Regions from separate parts of the Homo sapiens genome. Here region 2 is linked to region 1. The links are contacts of gene promoters, found by promoter capture Hi-C in human tissues and cell types (Jung and others, 2019). All regions are on one chromosome and are shown on one strand. Each heading gives the region's core, a stretch centred on a gene start or on the middle of the fragment in contact. The rest is flanking DNA. Distances are from core to core; before and after follow the strand shown.

What was found. Contacts are between HindIII fragments. The study calls those that stand out against the background at their distance.
Region 2: a contact is called between the fragment with the promoter of ZNF12 here and a fragment that was not itself captured in region 1, in 1 of the 25 tissues and cell types used here (neural progenitor cells).

The regions. Positions count from the first base shown.
Region 1 is chr7:6,846,183-6,852,373 of GRCh38, forward strand. No RefSeq gene overlaps it. Among named protein-coding and RNA genes, the nearest start is that of CCZ1B, 23 kb to the left of the region's middle. The HindIII fragment of the contact is 8,245 bases long and covers 1-5,463 here.
Region 2 is chr7:6,705,137-6,710,792 of GRCh38, forward strand. ZNF12 (zinc finger protein 12) reads right to left here and starts at 1,811. Exons shown (of 5, transcript NM_016265.4): 1 at 1,296-1,811; 2 at 23-87. The coding sequence starts at 37. RefSeq lists a silencer at 1,427-1,786 and an enhancer at 1,480-1,979. The HindIII fragment of the contact is 19,528 bases long and covers 1-5,656 here.

The DNA of each region.
Region 1 (6,191 bases), core at 91-2,590:
AAGAGGAACATGAGCAACCGGTGGCGATCGGCCCAGGTGGGGTTGTGGGTCTGGATAACCGTTTGGAGGAAATCAATTAGGGCTTGTGGCTTTTCGCTCTAGGACGGGGTATTGTTTTCCCAGTTGAGAAGGTCGGCAGAGGTGAAGGGCTGGTACACAAAAACACGCCTCTCCACCACGTGACCATCCTCCTCTCTCCCAGTATGCCGCTGCTCTCTCAGGGGCATTTGGATCCCCGTTTTGGGTCGTAAAAGAGCTGCCGAGGGAGGGGTGGAATGGCGCAATGTTACTTACCGCAATTAATAATCTTAATTATTAATTGATACTGATAATTATCAATATTAATAACTGATCATATAATTCTGAAAATCAATACCGATAATGATAATTCGTATTAAAGAGTTATACTCACGATAACAATAAATGAATATTAATGATTAATGATGCATGGTCTTAAAGAGTGATATTGATCTTATTCATTAGAAAACTGTCATATTAGCTCCTAATAATTAACATTAATATTAATAATCTGAACACTATTTTTAACAATGATTTCTTAATATTAATATTAATATTGGTAATACATATTCATGTTAATAAAAGAGGAAGAATTAATATGAATATTATCCCTAATACCTCAGTGGGTGTACACCCACCTGTGATGTTGTTCCTAATGTCCAGGGAGGGAGAGAGCATGATATGACGTTCAATATCGCAGTAGGTGTACACCCACCCGGTGATATTGATCCGAATATCATCTCCAGGGGGTGGCGTATGACGTTACTCCCAAGATAGCAGTGGGTGTGCATCCACCCGGTGATATTCCTCCTAATATTCCCGGAAGAAGAGAATGCTATTACTCCCAGTATCTCAGGAAGTGTACACCCCTTCTGTGACATTGTTCCTAATATCCGGAGGGGGAGAGGGTGATATTACTCGCAATATCGCAGGCTGTGTGCACCCACCCTCTGATATTGTTCCTAGCAGCCAGGAAGTGAGAGGACGATATGACTCCCCATACAGCAGGAGGTGTACACCCATCCTGGGATATTATTCCTAATATCCACGGAAAGGAGAGGCTGATATGACTCCCAATATCGCAGGGGGTGTACATCCAGTCTGTGATATTGTTCTTAATATTCAAAGGTGGAGAGGTTGATATTACTCCCAATATCACAGAAAGTGTACAAGCCCGTGTACTATTGTTGCTATTATACAGAAGAAGAGAAGATGATATCACCCCCTCATCGCAGGAGGTGTACACCCACTCTGTGATATTTTTTCCAATGTGCAGGGCAGGGGAGGATAATACTCTTCTTCATAGCACAGGGTGTGTACAGCCCCACCGTGATATGATCCTTAATATTCCAAGGCGGAGAGGATGATCTTACTCCCAATACCGCAGAAAGTGTACACAACCCCAGTGATATGGTTCCCATGATCCAGGAGAGAAGAGGATGATGTTACTTTCAATATCGCACGGGGTGGACACGCTCCGGTGATATTGTTCCTAATTTCAACGTGGGAGAGGATGATACTACACGGAATGCCCCTAGGGATAAAAACACTCCTGTGATATTGTTCTTAATATCAAGGGGAAAGAGGATGCTATTACTCCAAAGAGCGCAGAGGATGTGCACCCGTCTGTGATATAGTTGGTAATTTCCAGAGGTGGAGAAGATATTACTGACAATAACGTGAACACGCTGTGTGACCACCGTGGATCGTCATATCCAGGGGGGGAGAGGGGGTGCTGATATGACTCCCCGCATCGCGGGGGGCGCCCGCCCCCCTGCGACGTGAATCATCATATCTAGAGGGGGGTGATATGACTGCCCGCATCGCGGGGGCCTCATCCCCTTGCGATGGGGGTCCTAAGAGCCAGGGGGTGATAGGGGCTGGCTCTTACTCCCCGTACCCCAGGGTGGGGCCTTACCCCCCTGCAAAGGGGCTCCTAAGAGCCAGGGGGAGAGAGGGGCTGGCTCTTACTCCCCGTATCGCAGGAGGTGGGTACAACCCCTGCGATATTGGGAGTAATGTCATCCTCTCCGCATGAATATAAGAAACAGTATCACAGGAGGATGTACACCCCCTGCGATATTGGAAGTAACAACATTTTCTCCCCCTCCGGATATTCGGAACAATATCACAGTGGGTGTGTACAGCCCCTGCGACATTGCCGCTAGTATCTTCCTCTCCCTCCCAGGATAGAAGGAACAATGTCACAAGGGGGTGTACACTCCCTGCGATATTGGCTGTAATATCTTCCTCTCCCCCGCTGCCCTTTAGGAGCAATGTTACACAAGGGGTGTACACCCCCGGCTATATTGGGAGTGATATCATCCTCTCCGTCCCTTTATATTAGGAACAATATCCCTAGGGAGTGTACACATTCTGCAATATTCAGACTAATAGCATCCTCTCGCCGCCTGGATATTAGGATCAATATCACAAGGATGGTGTGCACCCCCGGTGAAATTGGAAGAAATATCATCATCTCCACCTTTGGATGTTAGGGACAGTATCTCGGTGGAGGTCTCCACCCCCTGCGATATTGGGAGTCATATCCGCTCCCACCCAGGATATTAGGAACAAGATGACCGAAGGGATGTACACCCACTGCGCTATTTTCAATAATGTCATCCTCTACCCCCCGGCTATTAGGAGTAACATCATAGAGGGGTGTACACTTTCTGCGATATAGGGAGTCATATCCTCTCCCCCACGGATATCGGGAACAGTTCTATTAATTATTAATATTAATAAATATAATAACAATTAATAGTAATCATCAATATTAATAATTACAGTAGAGACAGTAAAACAGTACAGATGAAAAATATTAACGGTTACTATTAATAATTAATAGCAATATCACTATTAATAATAAAATAATGATATCACTAATTAATGTTACTTCAATCAATCATAAGTGATGTTGGTAATAAAACAATAATTAATATTAAGATTAATAACTAATATTAAAAGTGACATTAATCTTAATAATTAATTTTAATCATGCATAATCATATCTTGAAAATAATCATTAATGATTAATAACGTTATACTGTTAATTAATATTACCATTGATAATTATTAATAAGACTGATGTTTAATAATTCAGAATATTATTACTGCTAATACCACAGGGGGTGTACACCTACCTGTGATATTGTTCCTAATATCCAGGGATGGAGAGCATGATATTAGTTTTCATATCGCAGTAGGTGTACACTCACCCTGTGACACCGATCCTAATACCCAGAGGGTAGAGTATGACATGACTGCCAACACAGTAATCAATGTACAGCCACCCGGTGATATCGCTCCTAATATTCACGGAAGAAGCGTATGATATTACTCCCAATATCGCAGGGAGTGTACACCTCTTCTGTGATGTTCTTCCTAGTATCCCGAGGGGGAGAGGGTGATAATAATTCCAGCATCGCAGGCTGTGTTCACCCAGCCTGTGAAATTGTTATTAATATCCTGAAAGGGAGAGGATGATATTACTCCCCATAATAGATAGATATGACTCCCCATAATAGAGCAGGAGGTGTACACCCACCCTGTGATATTCTTCCTAATATTCGGAGACCGAGAGGTTGATATTACTCCCAATATCGCAGGAAGTATACACCCCCATGTGAGATGGTCCTTCATAATATTCTAAGGCGGAGGGGGTGATATGACTACATATATGGCAGAAAGTGGACACCCCCCAGGGATATTGTTCCCATGATCCTGGAGGGAAGAGGATGATATTACTTTCAATATCACAGAAGGTGGACACGCCCCCACTGATATTGTTTCTAATTGCAACGTGGGAGAGGAGGATATGACACGCGATATCCGAGGGAGTGGAAACACCCCTGTGATACTCTTCTTAATATTCAGGGAGGAAGAGGATGATATTACTCCCAATACAGATGGGTGTACACCCTCTGCACACCGAGGGTGTACACCCGTCTCTGAAACAGTTCATAATCTCCAGAGGGGGAGATGATATTGCTCACAATATGGTAAACAGGCTGTGAGTCCACCGCGGATCCTAAAAACCAGGAGGGGGGAAGAGGGGCTGGCCCTTACTCCCCGCATCGCGGTGGGCACCTCACCCCCCTGCGATGGGGGTCCTAAGAGCCGAGGGGGAGAGGGGCTGTTCCCTACATTGGGGCACTGAGGTCCCTGTTTTCTTGCAAGCTGCCATCGGGGACCACTCTCGGCTTCCAGGGGCCTCCTTGTAGGTGGCACCATGGCCACTTGCCCTACTCCAAGCCTGCAGAAGAGCACCTCTCTGCCATGTCCCTTTCTTTTAAAAGACTTGCCTGACTGGTTCAGGTCCATTAGGTAGCGTCCCACTTGATTAGCTCAAAAGTACTGTAGCCCATCACATTCACTCACAGGAGGGCATTAGCGGGGTGTGGACACCAGGGAGTGAGAATCTCTCAGGCCAGTTTAGCATTCAGTTGGTTAGCGAGGTTCAGTGGCTCACGCCTGTACTCCCAGCACTTTGGGAGGCTGAGGCGGGCAGATCACCTGAGGCCAGGAGTTCGAGACCAGCCTGGCCAATATGGTGAAACCCAGTCTCTACTAAAAATACAAAAATTAGCCAGGCTTGGTGGTGGGCGCCTGTAATCTCAGCTACTTGGAAGCCTGAGGCAGGAGAATCGCTTGAACCCGGGAGGTGGAGGTTGCAGTGAGCCGAGATCGTGCCATTGCACTCCAGCCTGGGCGATACAGCGAGTCTCAAAAATAAATAAATGCGAAGGCTGCCGAGCGCAGTGGCTCATGCTTATAATCCTGGCACTTTGGGAGGCCGAGGCAGGAAGACTGCTTAAGGCCAGGAGTTTCAGCCTAGCATGGACAACACAGTGCAACTCTATCTCTAAGTAAAATAAAATAAAATAAAATAAAATAAAATAAAATAAAATAAAATAAAATAAAATAAGTAAAATAAGAATTCAGTTGGTTAAAAGAAACTCACTAGGTCCAGCCCACAATCAAGGGATGGAAATTACACAAAGTTGTGAAGAGTCAAGGGTGGGAGATCGCTGGCAGCCCTTATAGAAGCTGCCTATCTCACATACCTGTTGGACAGCTTCTCTCTCCTAGCTGGGGGTATTTGGAGCGGGTGTCGAATCCTGCTCTTTTGTATGTCTGTTGCCTTTTCTCGCGGTGATGTGTTTCCTTTGCGTTCTGTAATTTTGGATCATGAGCTGAGCTTCAGAGGGGCTTTATGTGGGGAATCCTGGGTGGCCAGGTTTGAGGGAGCCACCTAGAGAGGTTTTCTATTTGGCTTTTCCAGGGGCCCCAGGGTACCAGTAAGCGAAGGCACCTGTTTTTTTTTTGAGACAGAGTTTCACTCTTGTTGCCCAGGCTGGAGTGCAGTGGCGCAATCTCAACTCACTGCAACTTCTGCCTCCCAGGTTCAAGCTATTCTCCTGCCTCAGCCTCCCGAGTAGCTGGGATTACAAGCACACGAGGCGTGGCTAATTTTTTGTATTTTTAGTGGAGATGGGGTTTCACCATGTTGGCCAGGCTGGTCTCGAACTCCTGACATCAGGTGATTCACCTGCCTCAGCCTCCCGAAGTGCTGGGATTACAGGCGTGAGCCACCACGCCTGGCCCAAAGCAACTTTTTAGTGTTAATTTCTCAACTCTGGCATTCCTAGACCACACAGGTAGCATGACTTCATTGTAGGAGTTCCACATTTATATAAGAGAGGCCTGAAAACGCAACGATCTCATGGGAAACTTGTTCACCACCTAAAGCTCAAATTTTCTCACCTCTCTCTGTTCCCCTGGGTGGAAATGTTTCTGTCCCTTTCTCTAAAGGTGTTGCATTTCTGTGGCCCCAACTTCATCATGCTTGACTGTAACCCTGACCCCCTGCCTTGTAAGGGCTTCCAACACTCAACCCAGCCCTGCCCTCAGGCAGTTGCAGCACCAGCTCCTCTGTCCCCACCTTGGTTCTCACTCCCCTCTTCACTTCTGGCCTTAGGGGACTTAACTTGTTTTCTGAAGAACTCAGCTAGATATTTATTTTATTTTATTTTATTTTATTTATATATTTTTTGAGATGCAGTTTCACTCTTTTGCCCAGGCTGGAGTGTAATGGCGTGATCTTGGCTCACTGCAACTTCTGCCTTCCGGGTTCAAGCGATTCTCCTGCTTCAGCCTCCTAAGTAGCT
Region 2 (5,656 bases), core at 561-3,060, 140 kb before region 1:
ATACATGAACAGAAACACTCACCAGGGATTTATTCATTTTCTGCTGCTCTTGGAAAAATCTGGAGGACTGTGAAAGCGGAGGCAGATCTGGGGAAGGAAAACCCAAGCCATGGCGTTATGAGCGGTCTGGCCTGCCAAGGCGGTCATCTCCCGCCCAAAACCTACACAGAAAGTTCCAAGAAGTACATCTTGTGGGAGACTGTCCCTTTAAGCCTTCAGAAGGGATTGGAAAATGATCAGGAGGGGGACCGATCTGCACATTTGAAACTCACACATGGCTACCTTGTGACTGAGTGGATGAGATTCTCATGGTGAATGAATACTGGATCCTACTGAAATAATCTGCCATCATTAAATGCAAGATTTAAAAAGGAATTCTGGTGACCAGCCTGGCCAACATGGTGAAACCCCATGTCTAGTAAAAATACAAAAATTAGCTGGGCGTGGTGGCGGGCGCCTGTAACCCCAGCTACTCGGGAGGCTGAGGCAGGAGAATCGCTTGAACCCGGGAGGCGGAGGTTGCAGTGAGCTGGGATGGCACCATTGCACTCCAGCCTGGGCAACAAAGCGAAACTTGTCTCAAAAACAAACAAACAAACAAACAAAAAACAAACAACAAAAAATGAATTCTGTAATACTCATCTATTTTCTTACTCTTTTAAATAAAGATCAGAAAATCCACAGGATGCCCTAAATAAAGGAATACAGTCGGCATAATTGAGTCTTTATTTGCAGAAACTTCAGTGTGCTACTCAAAAGGATCTTTTATTGAAGAACTTACGCTCACTTAACTAGGATACGGGGGACAGAACACTGGCCTGGGAGATAAAACTCCAGAGTTCTACTATGAGCAACTCCACCCACAAAACCTCGGACAAGTCACCCACCTGCTAAGGCCCTTCCCCTAGCAAATGAGGCAGCAAGAGATAGTTCCTGCAGGCTGTTCCTGCACTACAACGTATGATTCCACAAGAGCAGACCTAAGGGGGAATCAGCACTTAAATGAGAGAACAGAGGTGCTGACGGACGTTTAGATACGGTAGCAATCTGGAGCAGAGAGAGGAGGAAGGGCTGCTGGGGTGAGGGGGGAGTGGAGACAACGTCCGCAGCTGAGGCTGGTGACACCCCCCACGCCCCCGTAAGCCTCGTCCTCGCCGGACCCTGCCTTCAAACCCAAACACACGTCACTCCTGCAAGCGATCGAGACCTTCCACTGTCCCTCACTCTAAGGTGCCCTACACGCGGTGACTTCACCCAGGCCCTTCTCGCCCCGGGCCCGCAAACCCACGACTTACCCTCCTGGGGCTCCGCAGCCTCTGCCCCACCGCTCCCGACAGGCCGGGGCGGGATTGCTGTCGCGGGCGCGCGTCTGCTCGCGAGGTCCCTTCCTGTCCACCTCACCAAGGCCGTTCTGCTCCAGAGGGGCCCGGGCCGGGCCTACGGGACAAATCCAGGCGGGGCGTCCCTCCCGGAGCCCAGATCCGTCTCCCTGGGGCTCACCGTCCTGCGGAGCCGGGGCCGGGCCGTCGAGGACGCACACGGGCCGGGCCCGGGTCCCGCCGCCCCTTCGCCTCCGCCGTCGTCACCGCCCGGCCGGCCCCTTGGGCCCCAGCGCCGTCGGCTCCGGGGGTCGTGCTCGGGGATCCCCGCTTGAGCCTCCGCCTGGCCCGCACAGCCCCGCGCCCGCTTGGGTGCCGGCCCGGCTCTTCGGCGCCCAGCCCCGCAGGCTCCGCGATTCTCGCCCACCGGAGGCCAAAGCCTGGGAACTAGGGCGAGCGGTGACCTGGGGACGCACAGGAAGCGAGGGCACTGCGGCCGCGGCGCGCATGCGCGAACACGCACACAGAGAGGGGTGCACATGCGCAGGAATGCACCGGAAGTCCGCCTCCCGGGACCCGCCGCCGGTCCCAGGACAAATACCGTGACTCTATTTCCCATGAGCCTACGCGCTCCCCAAATTTAGGAGCCATTTGAAATGTCTCTATCTGGTCTAGCGGTTAAGAGGCTCTATGCTAAGAGAATTGGCAACGCCGAACCCCAGACTCAAATTTCTCCTTAGTTTAAGGGAACGTCTTCATGGGGATGTCTTGACTATCTTTAAGGGAACGTCTAGAAAGTCTCTGCTTCCTGTAGCATCTCGTAGACCATGCCTGGGCCAGTCCTGCCTTACCGGAGAGCTCAAGGCTTAAAATCAATGTCCATGTGCAACCGTGACAAATGGAACAAGAGGGTGCATCATGCTAGCTTATGATCACAATGACACATTTAACGAAAACTTCAGTAAATAGAGCCCATGGATGAAATAATAGAGGATTAGCCTGGGACAGGATACCATCCTCGCCCCAACAAGGAGAAAAAGAATTCCAGCTTTTCCAAATCACTTTGAATTAGTGATAGCTAGAAAACTCAGAGAATATGTACAGAATTGAAAGAAGAAAAAAATTAGCCAGAACTCTACTTCCTGAAGAGGATGAGGCAAGCAGAAGAAGAAATTTGCGTCTTAATGGAAAACGAAGCACATTTAGAAAGCCATGTTACTTGATTCCAACCCTGTTCCTTATCTTTGAGGTATTTTACACCTCTTTGAAAACTGTAGGTAATCGATGCAAGTTATGTTCTGTCTGGTGGAAGTTGGTTGACTTCCCACAATCCCCACTAGAGAAAATGCAGTTTTGACTGCATTTCTCCATTTACATAATCATTTCAATATTCCTGATCTGAAAATATGTCTGTTTCTCAGATTCTCTCTCTCTCTCTCTTTTTTTTTTTAATTTTGAGACAGGGTCTCACTCTGCTGTGCATGCTGGAGTTCAGTGGCGAGATCTTGGCTCACTGGTTCAAGGAATTCTCCTGCCTCAGCCTCCCAAGTAACTGGGATTACAGGTGCACACCACCAAGCCCGACTAATTTTTGAATTTTTAGTAGAGATGGGGGTTTCACCATGTTGGCCAGGCTGGTCTTAAACTCCTGACCTCAAGTGATCCACCCGCCTCAGCCTCCCAAAGTGCTGGGATTACAGGCATGAGCCACCATGTCCAGCCCTCAGATTCTCTTTTGAACCAGTTATAATATCTGCCTGTTTCCTCTTGAATTAAATAAAATCTTTAGCATGTGCTCATTTTTATATCTGTATCAGAGTCATGATTTTACTTTTATGTTTTAAGGTTTTCCAGGTCTTTGCAGAAGTCCCTGATGGAATCACATGACTGAGCCAGGAAAACCTCAGGACTGGAGTGCCTCATGAACTGTTGAAGCCCAGGTGAATCTTTTCTTGGCTCCCAGGAATGAGTCCAAAGTGCCAGTAGAAATTTGCTGGCTTCTCATTTTTCAGTAATTTCCCCATTTACCAATCCTGTGTTTTACTTTGGTTTGCATTTGTTTACATTGCTAGCATCACTGATTGGGACTTTGTTTGTTTTTGTTGTTTCAAGGCAAAGTCTCACTCTGCCGCCCAGGCTGGAGTGCAGGGGTACGATCTCGGCTCACTGCAACTTCTGCCTCCCAAGTTCAAGTGATTCTCCTGCCTCAACCTCCTGAGTAGCTGGGACTATAGGTGCATGCCACCATGCCCGACTAATTTTTGTATTTTTAGTAGAGACGGGGTTTTTCCATGTTGGCCAGACTGGTCTCGAACTCCTGACCTCAGGTGGTAGACTCGCCTCAGCTTCCCAAAGTGGTGGGATTACAGGCGTGAAGCACCGCGCTGGGCTAGGAATTTGGTTTTATGGTCTGATCACATGGTGATCTCTGTAATGAGATTAATGTTTGCAAAGACCTAATCTCTGTTGGGTGAGAGACATCAGAGTCTGATTTGTTATTCTATTTCTCTGTCTATTTTGAGCTGAAATCAATTAAGAATTTCATGCCCACTGGGAGGAGAAGAGCTCTTTCATATCTGGAAGGGTGAGTTTTTGCATTTTTGTGTTTACTCTTGACCCATGTCTGAAATTTTAGAATTGAAGCTGTAAGCTCTATTTCTTTGTATGTCTGTGTGTCTGTAATTTAGAAAGGTCTTTACCTCTGATTGTGTGAGTGTCTAATGTTTTTCCACCTCTGAATGGTATTATAGTAGATATAGAGTTTGTTTGTTTGTTTTTGAGACAGGGTCTCACTCTGTCGTCCAGGCTGAAGTGCAGTGTGTGCGATCACGGATCACTGCAGCTTCAACCTACCTGGGCTCAGGTGTTCCTCCCACCTCAGCCTCCCAATTAGCTGGGACTGCAGGTGTGTACCACCATACCCAACTAATTTTCGTATTCTCTATAGAGATGGGGTTTTGCCATGTTGCCCAGGATGGTCTCGAACTTCTGGGCTCAAGCGATCTGATCACCTCAGCCTCCCAAAGTGCTGGGATTACAGGCATGAGCCACAATATAGAGTCTTTAAAGGTTTGCTGTTCTGATTGGCTTGTAGAGGTGTGTATGTACTTATATAAATTGAATTTGCCCAAATTCTTAGAAAAAAAGAGAAATTGAACTTCTGTTGCTTTAATGTGCTAGAAAGGTATTTTTTACTGAAACCAAATCAAATGTTTTGGAAATGCGAGTCCGCATGTAGTCCACATATATGTTACCGAGCAGTCAATGCACTCGCTGCCCAGTGTGTACAGAGGCCAATACCATGGCTCCAGCTTTTGAGAAATAAAGCCTTTTTGTAAGTCAACTAGCAAGGACACAGGAGGAAATGCTCAAATCTCCCTTTCCCAGCTGGGGGCTATGTCAGGTTTTGTACGCATAGGGTAAGGAGATGTGATTTGATTGGATCTTGAGATGAAGTAATTAATGCTGGGAGGTGTGATCTGACTGGATCCTGCCATGGAGTGACACCAAAACTCAATCTCATTGGTTCCTGGCTCCTGCCACAGGGTGTCCGGTTCTTAAATGGGTCCCAGCTCCTCAGTCCGAGCACTTAGGTTCCACTTCGTGGTTGCATGCTTGGTTAATCTGGGCATGCTCAGAGTATATGACCTTCAACCCACGGATCCATGGCAGTTGAAAAACAACTGCCAACTACATTACATAAAAGTTGAAATGGACGTGGAGTGTGGTGGCTCACACCTGTAATCCCAGCACTTTGGGAAGCTGAGGCAGGCAGATCACGAGGTCAGGAGTTCCAGCCCAGCCTGGCCAATATGGTGAAACCCCGCCTCTACTAAAAATACAAAAATTATCCAGGGGTGGTGATGCGCTGAGGCAGGAGAATCTCTTGAACCCAGGAGGCGGAGGTTCCAGTGAACCGAGATCGCGCCATTAAACTGCAACCTGGGTGACAAGAGCAAAACTCCGTCAAAAAAAAAAAAAAACTTGAACTAGATTTAGTCTGATGCAGTTCCAGATTTACAAACCGTGTCCCCACCCTCCTGCCGACACCTTCCACTCCTCATTCTTGAGGGATTAGGGATGGAGGTCATGCTTCTGTATCTACTTCATGCTGACCAGAGGCACTGAGTCCCCTAAAGTTAGAGGAATGAAACTCTTGGGCTGCTGAGTTCAAATGAGTTTTGGGGTCACCCAGAATTGCTTGAAGGGCTGGTATTGTTGTGGTAATACAAGCTGAAGGTGGAAGTGTTGGAGCCGGGAGGACAAACAGCTCACCATCAATTTAAATAAACAGGACTGAAAAGTACCAGGAGAACAGTGGCCACGAGGGGCCCCAA